Regions from separate parts of the Homo sapiens genome. Here region 1 is linked to region 2. The links are contacts of gene promoters, found by promoter capture Hi-C in human tissues and cell types (Jung and others, 2019). All regions are on one chromosome and are shown on one strand. Each heading gives the region's core, a stretch centred on a gene start or on the middle of the fragment in contact. The rest is flanking DNA. Distances are from core to core; before and after follow the strand shown. Region 1 has its middle 6.9 kb from the start of AKAP11. Region 2 holds the start of KBTBD7 (kelch repeat and BTB domain containing 7).

The links. The method cuts DNA at HindIII sites, captures the fragments that hold promoters and counts their contacts. A contact is called where the count stands out against the background at its distance.
Region 1: a contact is called between a fragment that was not itself captured here and the fragment with the promoter of KBTBD7 in region 2, in 1 of the 25 tissues and cell types used here (dorsolateral prefrontal cortex).

Annotation. Positions count from the first base shown.
Region 1 is chr13:42,262,127-42,268,315 of GRCh38, forward strand. No RefSeq gene overlaps it. Among named protein-coding and RNA genes, the nearest start is that of AKAP11, 6.9 kb to the right of the region's middle. The HindIII fragment of the contact is 4,008 bases long and covers 2,464-6,189 here.
Region 2 is chr13:41,191,689-41,197,464 of GRCh38, forward strand. KBTBD7 (kelch repeat and BTB domain containing 7) reads right to left here and starts at 2,881. Exons shown (of 1, transcript NM_032138.7): 1 at 1-2,881. The coding sequence starts at 2,569. The coding sequence ends at 515. All of the region lies in intron 3 of KBTBD6-DT (KBTBD6 divergent transcript), which reads left to right. RefSeq lists enhancers at 1,623-2,330, 2,331-3,037, 2,382-2,651, 2,962-3,051. The HindIII fragment of the contact is 7,226 bases long and covers 1-5,776 here.

The sequences.
Region 1 (6,189 bases), core at 3,218-5,717, 1.1 Mb after region 2:
AGCAACTGTGATTGTACCAGTCAAAATAGAATGTAAAATCACCCTAAATAGAAATACAGAAGGGTCCTCAGACCACAGCAATTTTGTTCATGGCTTTGTGGACCAGTATTACTATCCAAGTGACTCCTCTGGGGGTTCCCTGGCATAGGTGGAAGTGAGCCACTGGTTCTTGGAACAGCTCTGAAAGTGGTATTATATTACTGAGAGGAAGGGAGCTTAGTGAGGAAATCCATTATCAAGGTGGCCCAGGGGAACTGAATGTTTGGCAGGGATCACAGAAAACCTTTGGCTTTTCCCAGTAGGTGTTTGTTCTTCTGTATATTTTGTATATCATTGTATTCCACTACTTCCATTTTTTGACCTAGAGTTGTTAGAAGTCATGAGTCAAGGAAAGTAGAACCTTGTGTTCACCAAAATGAATGAATAAACAGAGGGCAGGATTCATGACAATTTTCTATAACATGTAAGTCATTTGAAACACACTTCTGTCTGAGGGCAAGCAGAGGGTTTGCTAGATCTCTTAATATATTATTGCCATTCCTGGGTGAGAAATGAGAAGGTCCAGTAGAAGCTGGATCATAGGAGAAAACACTATAGTATTACAAAACCCAGTCCCCAATGGAGGTGGTAAATTAGATTACTGAGAACAAGGAGAGGAAACATTTGCCATGTTCTGGCAGAAGGGGCTGGAATATAGATTCTGTATGGTGTCTAAGAATCAAGCATCATTTCTGTAGAGAGGGCTCTCTGTTTGTAGGATGGCATCATCCAGTCATATCTTAATGAGGGGATGCTGTAGCAGACAGCTGCACTGACCATGTAGCTAGAGACCAGGCAGAAATGTGGGTACTTCAGTGGAGGCTGATGTGGAAAGGTAGTAATGATCAAGAAACAGATAGCATAGTATACATTTCAGTGGACTTCAGTGGAGGACTTTATTCCTTCCTGGAACTTAGGTGAGAATTCTTAGAATTACATAAAGAGTAAAATGAGCAAGAAGTGTTCACAATAATTTTTTTAAAGTTACAAAAATATAGACTAATATTAAACTTCGAAGAGCATAGGGTTTGACACTGAAACCCAAGTAGCACCTTATAAATGTTGGCTTCTCTTTCACAGAAAAGAAATGCCGTTTCCTCAAACCATACATGAAAATTAGTATGATATTTTATCAGACCTTATTTTACTGCAGATATTACTTTCATCCGGAGTTTATATGCAATTTCAGAATAGCTACTGACCATCTAAAAAGGATAGAAAAAGTACAGGCCATTATACTATTAAGCTAGAGCTCTGTAGGAATCTTAATATACCCATTATAGTAAGCTTATAGGCATACTGTTTGAAGATAACAAAATCATTGTAAGATTATTACACCAACTGATAAGGATACTAACCTGCACAATCAAATGTGAGTAAGGACACACTTAAACAGGAAGAATGGTAAAATCAGTTTAGAGATAAAGAGCAGAATATGACAAATTATACATTTATAATATAAATTTATGAATTATAAATTTGGGCTCTACAAAGGGAATTTTCTAAATAAATTACAAAAGTGCCAAGAAATTTGACACCCATTGTTTATAAAGATAACCCATCTATTTGAAAAATAATGGTAATTATTATTTTTCCCCCTCACATTGAACAAAAATCTGTCCTCTTCCTCTGGAAGGACAGAGGAAGCCTCAGATAGTTCTCAGACATTAGCATTTCAACCTCAGTTTACTATATCCCTCTGAGTCTCCCCTTCTTCAGGTTAAATACCAACAAGATAAGTTTCACATATGAGATATTCCCTTAGGCTCCTCACCTCTGGTCATATTTCACTATGGCTAATGCAGGTGCATACTGACTAGTTAGAGTACAGTAGGACTAGCACCTCTTTTGTCTTGAGCATCACACTAGCATTCATGTAGCCTAAAGTTGCATTTGCCATGTTTTGGTAGCTGCATCCTTCCGATGAAGAAGATTGGACTAACCATAAAGGGTTGCAGGCCAGTAAACCAATAAATCAGAAATGGTTGGCTACTTTGATGTTCATGAAGATTGGCTATCAAGAAATCCTAGTCTATCTTTCAGAAGCTTAGCTGATTTCACATATTCCATTGTGGTGAAGGGGAACAAATGTGTTCAAGATGACTTTGGGCAATCCAAAATAAATTGGGATCAAATCTAGTAAGGGGACAGACTGGATATCTCTAACGTAGTTTAGTGGCTTAAAATTGCAAATAGAGCAAGGATTTCCTACAGCCTGGGCTAGGAGGCATTTGGGGGTCTTAAAAGTTCTACCACTTTTCAACCTAGATTTTTACCCCAGTGTTTAATGACTTTCTGTACCGTATGTAAGCATGTATTAATAATATTCATGTTTCATATGCATGACTATTACCTCCTTTAAAGATCTAATCACGTAAGGATATTTCTGTTAAATTTCATGTGAGCTAACTAATGAATAAGGATGCTCTGACTGACACTTTGAATTAATGTTTCATTTTTCAAGCAAAGCAGCTAAGCAACAGGAATGACAGACCCAGAAATAACTTGTTCTAAGATCTGTTTTATCTTGTCATAAAGTTAGGACAATATTCCAAAAGCTGACCTTGTCCTTTAGATATATAATCCAGGGGAAGTCATCTAACATCTTTTTTAAAGCAGTAAGCATGTATGCTATTGGCTCACATGAAGAGGAAGTCTATCTCACTTTTTGCAAAAGACATTTTTTAAAAGTTGTGTATAAATTTTATATGGTAAATTAAACTATTATTTACTTATGCTAAATGCTTTTGAAATGCTTGATAACATTCATGCTTCTTTGAACTTGTAATGTCTGTAACATAAGCTTTTTATAATACCTTGCACTTCTAATTTAACTATAAACCAGTCATGTAAAATCAGCAGAGCAATGATATTTAAATAAACTCTTTTATCTTATCAACTAGTTACATTTAGGCATAATTACTTGTTTTTGAACTTTGGACAAGTATATATTACATTTTCTTAAAAGAAGGTACATCTATGTTTTACATATTAGAAGTATTATAATTCAGTAATTAGCTATGATTTAAATCAGAAGAATCATTATATTTGAGTAAAATATATAGTAGGACTCAGATTGATTTTGCTGTTCAAGAAGTGTTTAATTTGGATTGGCACTTCTGAATTATCATTTGTACTATATTTACTAATTAGTATAGTTAGGATTCTATGATTTTAGCATTGAACAGTTAATGAGTGCCACCGTGTATTAAAATATCACTAGGTATAATTTTAACAGTGGTTAAGATGTGTCTCTATCCTTATAAAGACACTCGCTACAAAAGAATTAGGTAAGTGCTGTGAAATTAAATCATTTAAACTTAAAGCTGTTGGAACTTTACATTATTCTGTGCCTTGAGAGGAACATGGCTCTGCAGCCTGAGTCACACGGCATGCAGTTGCAACTTCTGCTCTTTTTTTTCTGTAAATAATTAGTAAGATCAAAAGGCACCAGATATAAGACCCTCTCAGATCACTACTCTTACTCACAGAGTAATAAAGTCATCTTCCTTGGAATGTAGCAATCTATAACCAATCAAATTGCTGTAATACACTGGTCTCCTGTGGAAAATGTGATAATCCTGCTAAAATTTCTCTCTCTGAGACTATGTAAGTGAAACCTTAACTTCTCCACTTTGGAATACTGACCCCATTCATCTGGAATTGTTGTTCCCAGGTTGTCATCCTCAAGCTTTATGCTCAAATAAACTCCATACTGAATCATATTTTCTGAATCTCATTAAGGTTGACAGTATGTACATTATAAAGTATATAGTAGACTGTGATATAATATATAGGCATTCAAACCGAAGGCATAAAAGAGGTATTTCACCTCTTGAACTTAAAAAGCACCTTTACATATTTAAACAGCTGATGAAACTGTAATTTCCACATTTTTCCCCTTTCAGAATGTTTTATTAATACATTGGTTTATTAAGTATTAACAAATTTGGCTGGATGCAGTGTCTCACGCCTATAATCCCAGCTCTTTGGGAGGCTTGAGCCCAGGAGTTCAAGACCAGCCTGGGCAACATAGCAAGACTCTGTATCTACAAAAAATTTTAAAAAATAGCCAGATGCAGTAGTGCGCACCTGTAGTCCTAGCTACACTGGAGGTAAGTGGGGAGGATCACTTGAGCCTAGGAGCTCAAGACTACACTGAGCTATGGTCACTGCACTACAGTTTGGGTGACAGAGACTCTGTCTCCAAACAAACACAAAATAATAATAAGTTAAATAATACATGTAAAGCAACCATCAAATAACTGGTCTGCTCCATTATTTTTTCTTGTATTTTCTAATGTTCTATATAACGTGTGTATTAATTCATAATCATAAAAAACAAAGTCCTAAAACTGAACAATGTAGAAAAGAAGGACTTGACATCTCACTTTTACAAGTGAGCCACCAGCTGGGACCATCACTCAGGCAGGAAATATCACTCAGGCAGGAATTCAGCAAGTGGGCCAAAGGGAGACTCAAGTTTTCAAACAGGAAGCGATATGGAATCTGCTCTTGGCTGTCAGAGGCTGCTACTGTAAAGCTCCAAAGCTCCTGGGGAAAGATGATGCCTGCCTTTGTAGTCAGAAGGTCACCAAGGGTATTAAGCTGAGAGGCTAGCTTTGTGTATTAGGCTTAGTTTTGTTGAAAGGTAGGACCAGACCGAACTAGCTAATTTTAGTCTGAACTATTCCATTTAGTGCCCCATGTGATCCAGAATAAATCATTCAACCTTGCTGGGTCATAATTCTTTCATGTGCCTATAACCCAAATGTCTTGTTTCTATTACAGTATGTCTAAAAATGAAAGAAATATTTCCATTAACTTAGAAAATTACAGTGGAGGAGACACCACCAATTTGATTGCTGGAAATTGGCCCACTAAAATGTCCCTAGGAGACACACAGGGGTTCCCAGGCACCCTCTTGGGTGCCCTTGGACACAGGCTGTGTTCCCTGACTTGCCACCCTGCTGCCCTGGCTCCTTTGTACACCACTGGTCTCTCCTCTCCCTACCCCGTTTCTGTGAGGAGTATGAGCAGGGGACACCTGTTTTCTCCCTGCTGCAACATCCCAAGCATGGGACATGCCTTGACATTCATTTCCCTTAACATAGCACAGATTTGGCTTATAGCATTTATCAGGACTTTACTGAGGACTCCTGACAATACAAATTAAAGAGAATAAAGAATAGTCTGGTAAGACACCCTCCTTCCCCGCTTCTCTTTTTTTGAATAGTTATTGAGTACCTACTATGTGCCTTAGGAACTCCTAAGCAAAAACAGAAACAGCCCTTGCTCATGGATCTCACAGTTCAGTGGAGGAGGGAGACAGACATTAACTAGGTAACCACACAAATAAAAATTGTTATAAGTTGATAAATGCGTTGAAGAAAAAGTAGGGAGTCCTAAGTAAAGGGGATTTACTTAGTCTGGGGAGTTAGGACGAAAGTTCCTGAGGAAGTGACAGTAGAGTTGAAAGGTGAAGGATTCTTGGGCATTCAGCTGTTAACAGGGATGGACAGAGAAAGAATATTGGATCCTGAAGAAACAGCCTGTGGAAGGTGATGAGGCAGGCAGGGTCTGGTCCTATTTTGAGGAACTGAAAAGGGGACAGTCTGAAAGGGAGAATGATATGAAAGCAAAGGAGAAAAGCAGATTATGAGGAAAACCATGAGAAGCCACTGAAGGATTGTAAGCAGGGGAATGGCATGGTCAGATGCAGTAGAAATGGCAGCCCTCTGGAGATAGAGTGCACATACTTCAACCAGCAGGCAAAAAAGACAAATCCTGGAAGCAAAGGAACGGTGCTAGGAGGAGAAATATGAACTCTGTAAATGGGATAAATAGAACGTCTTCTATTTTTTAGAGTATTAAAAAGAATCAGCAACATCCACACAAAATTTGTATAGGAATATTCAAAGCAGTATTATTCATAATAGCCAAAAAGTAGAAACAACTGAATTGTCTGTCAACTGATAAGTTGGCCAATAAAACTGTGCTATATACATAGAATGGAACTGTTATTCGGCAATAAAAAATAAATGAAGTACTGATACACGCTTCAACATGGATGATCCTTTAACACATGCTAAATGAACGAAGTGAGACCCAAGAGACCATGTATTGTATGACTCCATTTATATGAACTGT
Region 2 (5,776 bases), core at 1,631-4,130:
TACAAACTACATTTAACTTAGAATATAAAGAACTGACTAGTGTAAAATTTTGAAAATCTACCACTTTATTTTGAAGGAAAGTACACATCCTTCAAAACCCCGCTAACAATTCCTAGTTCAGTTTTCTATTATACAAATCAAAAAGTTAAATTCCTTGTGGCACTAACCAAAACTTAAAAATTAACAGAAGACTGAATTAATTAAAAAAAAAGCATACTAACTAATCAAAACAATCCACTGTGCAATGAATATTTGAACAATGAAAAAAACCTACCAAGCATCCTAATCAATTATATAGTTCTTGCTTCCATATTTTAATTCTGGACTTTCAGGATGGTAAATTATTAAACAGGTCGATTTCATGGACTGTCTAAACCTTGTAGTATTTCAAAATATTACCCTTTCTAAACCAAATCTGTGGTCCTAATCAACTTTTTTTCCAAGAAAAAGAAACGATATGTGTTTAAAATACATTCCGTAGCAGTAGAAACATCTTAGTGTCTCAAAATACTATTTACAAAGAACCCTGCTGATCCTGTGCATTTCGCTGAGGTGCTACTTGCACCCAGACTTCATCATCTGAAAAAGAACTTGAACTTCCTGACTCAGAGTCCAGCTCACTGAATCCATCTAAGTCCCATTCAGTACTAGACTCACTCCGTGCATCATCTTCCTCAGTAATAAAACTCTGACCAGGTTCAAGGCAGGAAGGATAAACACGAGCACAAAGGCAAATAAAGCCAGAGTCAAACTGCAAAAGGCCTAACATGGTACCTATATTAATCCACTGATCTTCCCTAGTATCATACTCATACACTGTCACTCGGTTCTTTTTCCATTGTGGGGTTGTAGAAGTGATGAGAAGCAACTTTTGGTCATGATTGACAATCTGGTAGTTGTGGGTCTCTGAATCCAAAGGAATATTACTAATCCGCCTCCATTCTCCCCTAGCTGGGTTGTAGACCTTCATGACTGGGATGTCACAGATACAATAGATTTCATCATTGAAGACACATGCTTCCTGAAAGTCACTACGTTTAAGAGAAGCACAGTTCAGCCACATATTGTGGCTAGGATCATAGCAAAGCATGCGCTTACTGTTGACAGCATAAAGATAGTTCTGAACCACTATGAGTTCAAAGGAATAGAAGGAATGAGGGACAGGAGCCACCAATGCCCACTGGTTTCTCTGAACACTGTAGCATTCCACTTCCTTCAACTTAACTCCAGTAATAGGGTCTCGTCCCCCCAAAATGTAGATGTAGCCATTGAGATATGCCACATCCATGCCCTCACGACACAGCAAGCGATCTGCAAGTTGCTGCCAACTATTCTGAGCTGGTTTATACACCCAGAGGTCTTTCCTGGGCTGAGCAGCTAGATAGATGTCATGGTCTGGGGACACACAGACAGCTGAGGAGGTGACAGTCTTAGTGTGAGCAAAGCTGGTCAAAGGGGATGGCATTGTGTAAATGTCCCCCGAGTAAGGGTCATAGCAGAGAAAGGGATCTCTAGGATGTCCAAAGAAGATCACCATCTCCTTGGCACACATACCCAGTCTCTGGGGTGGATTTTCTGCTGCAGATACAAGAGAGTTGCTGCTGCTACTGCTGCTGCTGCTGTTTGGCACTGGCACCAGAGACTTGTACAACAGGTCACCATAGCGCATCTGCAGGGCCCCTTCAATAACGTCCAGGCAGTACTTCTTCACGATGGGCTTGGTCAGCAGCCCTTCTAAGTAGTCCTGATCTTCTTCAGTGAAGTGCATCCAGCGCACGCACTTGAAGACTTCTGCAGCACTGGGACCCCGCTCTTTGGCAGCAGCCTCCAGCCACTGCACAGCTACATGGCATACAGTCCGCTCACTCTCTATGTCCAGACTATCCAGGCGTAGGACAGCCAGCAGCTGGGCCAGGGTTAGATCTGCTAGAGTCTCCTCCCGAATTGAACCCATTCGGCTGAGCTGCTTGAAGTTGTGAGCTATGTAGGACTGGGCCTGAGATCGAAGCTTGTGATGGTCGAAGGCGTCTGCAAACTTGAGGATGGCGGTGCAGTTGGTCAGGTCAAGACGTCGGGCTAAGAAGGAGGCACAGGCTTCCCGCACATATTCCAGCTGTAGCATGTCGGAGGCCGCGTACAGGCGCTGCACATTGGCCTCACTGAGAGACACACGACCCGTGTAGCAGTAGTCGACCAACACCTCGAAGGACTCGGCGTCCACATCGTGCATGGTCACGCTGGCCTGCTGGCTCTCGTACATGCCACCTGTGAACATGCTCTTGAAGTAGGGACACGCAGCTGCTAGCACGTTGCGATTGCAGGAAAAGAGGCGACCCGTGCCAGGCCCGCTGCCAGGCGTCACCACCTCGATGGTCACATCACACAGCAGCCGCGCGTCGTAGAAGGACTTGAGCTGTGCCAGCAGGGCTGCAGAATGGGCCGTGTCCTTTAACTCCTCTGGACCCGTGAAAAAGGCCGAAACCGAGGGCTTGGAAATCCTCTTGGGCCGCCTCCCACCACGGGGACTGGCGAGGCGGCGAGAGCGCGGGACGTCTTCCCGGGACTGCATGGTGGAGATGGCGACGGGCGCTGACGGCGAGAAAGGCTGCAGGACCAGGCTCTGGCTCCTCCTCAACCTTCCCTCGCTGACGCTAAGACAAGCCGCGTCCTGGAACAGACTGCGGCACGGGCCGCACTTCTGAATTCAGCCCTATCCCGCGGTGAGGCCTCCCTTTATTGCATAGACAGTGGCTGACTCACCCTCTCTCACTCCCGCGCCCTTTCTCCGCCTCCGCTCGCCCTCACAGGACCCGCTGGCTTGCAGCCGCGGAAGCCCCCACTGCCGCGCTGGCGATCCCGCTAGGCGCCCGGGAGAACTACTGCTCCCAGGTTGCCTTTCGCGCCCCGAGGCCTGCTGGGGCTCTCGGACGGCCGGGCGGGGACAGAGGGAAAGAAACCGCTTTGCATGTTGGGAGTAGTAGTTTGTGTAATATCGCGAGCTGTCCTTTAGTTGACTGCTCTAACAGTAGAAATTAATTCTCCTGGATTTGATGGTGAAGAGACTGTTGCCCAGGCTGGTCTTGAACTCCTGAGGGCTCAAATTATCCTCCTGCCTCGGCCTCTCAATGTGCTGGGATTACAGGCGTGAGCCACCGCCCCCTGCCAGTATTTCATAGGGTTTTGTGTGGTTCAATGATACCTTACATGGGATACTTAGATACATGTATGTTTTTGGTTAGAAGAATAGTAAAGCGTTACCCCGTGCCTAGAATGTAGCCAATAACTGTTAGATTCTCTTTTATAATTTATGATAAATGAGGCACCCACTAATTTGAAACCGAGTATTATTTTAAACCGCAAAATTTTACAAAGAATTTCTAGTTTTTAATGTTTATTCCTTCGAAAGATTTTGAAGGGCATTAACAATATTTTCAATATTAAATGATATCTATTGGTCTCGTTTAATAAGGATGTCTTAGACGACTAGGTTGAGGTCCTAAAGAACAGTATTAATAGATGGTCTCAAATACGCAAATCCAGCATATAAAAATAAATTATTTGCTGCTCTCACTAACATTTCATCTCTGGAGAGCAGGAGTATTTTCGTTAAGCTCCAAATATGAGTGTTTTCAAGTCGTCTAATACAGCCTCTTTCACTGCCGTTCCACAAATCAATTAACAGATTATGTAATTCCCTTTATTAAGGAGTTTTAGGGAGTATTTTAACTCAAAATATTTCAACAAACAGACTTTGTTCTGTACAAAAGCACATGATTCTCAGAATTCAACATCAGTACATGCCCTGACATTCCTTGAATTAATATATAGTATAGTCTATGCTTTACAAAGTCTTTTATATTTGCATTGGGATCAACAGTTAAATCATCAAAATCAAGTATTAGAGATTTGAGGCAGGAAAATAGGGTCTGGAGGCAGGGAACATAAGGCTGATTCACACTTTAGCTATAACAGGAAAGATCCTCTCCATAGGGTGTATGCTGAGTAAATGAGTTTGTAACTTTACTTCATTCTCTTCATTTACATAGGGTGTACACCAAGTAACCAGTGGAATCCTCTAGAGGGTATTTAAACCTTCAGAAATTCTGTAACAGGGCCCTTGAGCCCCTATGCTCAGGCCCGCTCCCCACTGTGGAGTGTACTTTCATTTTCAGTAAATCTCTGCTTTTGTTGTTTCATTGTTTCCTTGCTTTGTTTATGTGTTTTGTCCAATTTTTTGTCCAAAACGCCAAGAACCTGGACACCCTCCACCAGTAACAGACTTTTTCAGATAACTTTTATTACAAAACCATGACTGCTCCTGCTGCTAGTTTGTTATGTTACCATAACCTAATAAAGAAAATCATCAGTGTTACATGCATGTATGGATAACACATTACAAGAGAATAACTTTCAAATTGTTTTTCTCTTATCAGCTGAAGATAACTTCAACTTATCAGCTGAAGTCCACTGGAAATACTCTAGGGTAGACACATTAAATTAAGTCAGCCTCTGGGCTCTAATAACTCCTCTGTAAATAAAAAGAGATGTTAGATATCCCTCAGATACACCAGAGAGAATCAAGTCAGTCATTATCAGTAACAATGATTGTTTCCTGACTTGCAGTGAATACCAGCTGGGGAAAAAAGCCTTTTTTTTTTCTTTTTTTTTTTTTTTTTTGAGATGGGGTCTTGCCCTGTCACCCAGGTTGGAGTGCAGTGGCACCATAATAGCTCACTGCTGCCTCAAACTCCAGTGCTCAAGCAATACTTTGCCCTCAGCCTCCCAAGTAACTAGAGCTATAGATGCATACCACCACACCCAGTTAATTAAAAAAAAATTATAGACAGGGTCTCACTGTGTTGCCAGCCTGGTCTGGAAATCTTGGTGTCAAGCACTCTTCCTGCCTGAGCCTCTGAGTTGCTGCAATTACAGGCATGAGCCACATGCCCAGCGCAGGAATGGCCATTTTAAAAAACTTCTTAAAATATTGGTAAAATATACATAACACTAAATTTACCATTTAAACATTTTCAGTGTATAGTTCTTTAGCATTAAATATATTCACACGGTTTTGCCACTATCACAAAACTGAAGCTCTGTACCCATTTAAACAATAACTCTCTAGCCCCCACTTCTGGCAACTGCCATTCTACTCTTTGTCTCTATGACTTTTGACTACTCTAGGTACCTCATATAGGCAGTGACTGATTTTTACCTTCCTTATATCTGCTCTTACTGTGTTATTTGGTTTAGGTTACCTGTCACACAATTGAAGATATCTATTAGGCACTATTCCCTAAGATCTAGAGCTATGTGCTGTCCCATAAAACTTGGGAATATTTTATATTTGTGCTGGCTGATACAGTAGCCAGAAGCCACATGTAGCTCTTGGGTACGTGAAATGTGGCTAGTGCAACTGAGGAATTAAATTTAAAATTTTAGAAATACAGCATGATACCAATGCAATTCAATGAAGAAAGAAAATTCTTTTCAACAAATGTTATTGGAACAACTGGATCAAGAATGTAAGACAGAAAGTTGCCCTTGCCCCTACCTTACACCATAAGCAAAAAATTAATTCAAAATTTCTCCTAATACTAAATGGAAAAGTGGAAACTATAAAGCTTCAAAAAGAAAACATAGGGCCGGGTGCAGTGGCTCACACCTGTAATCCCAGCACTTTGGGAGGCTGAGGCAGGCGGATCATGAGGTCAGGAGATTGAGACCATCCTGGCTAACACGGTGAAACCCTGTCTCTACTAAAAATACAAAAAAT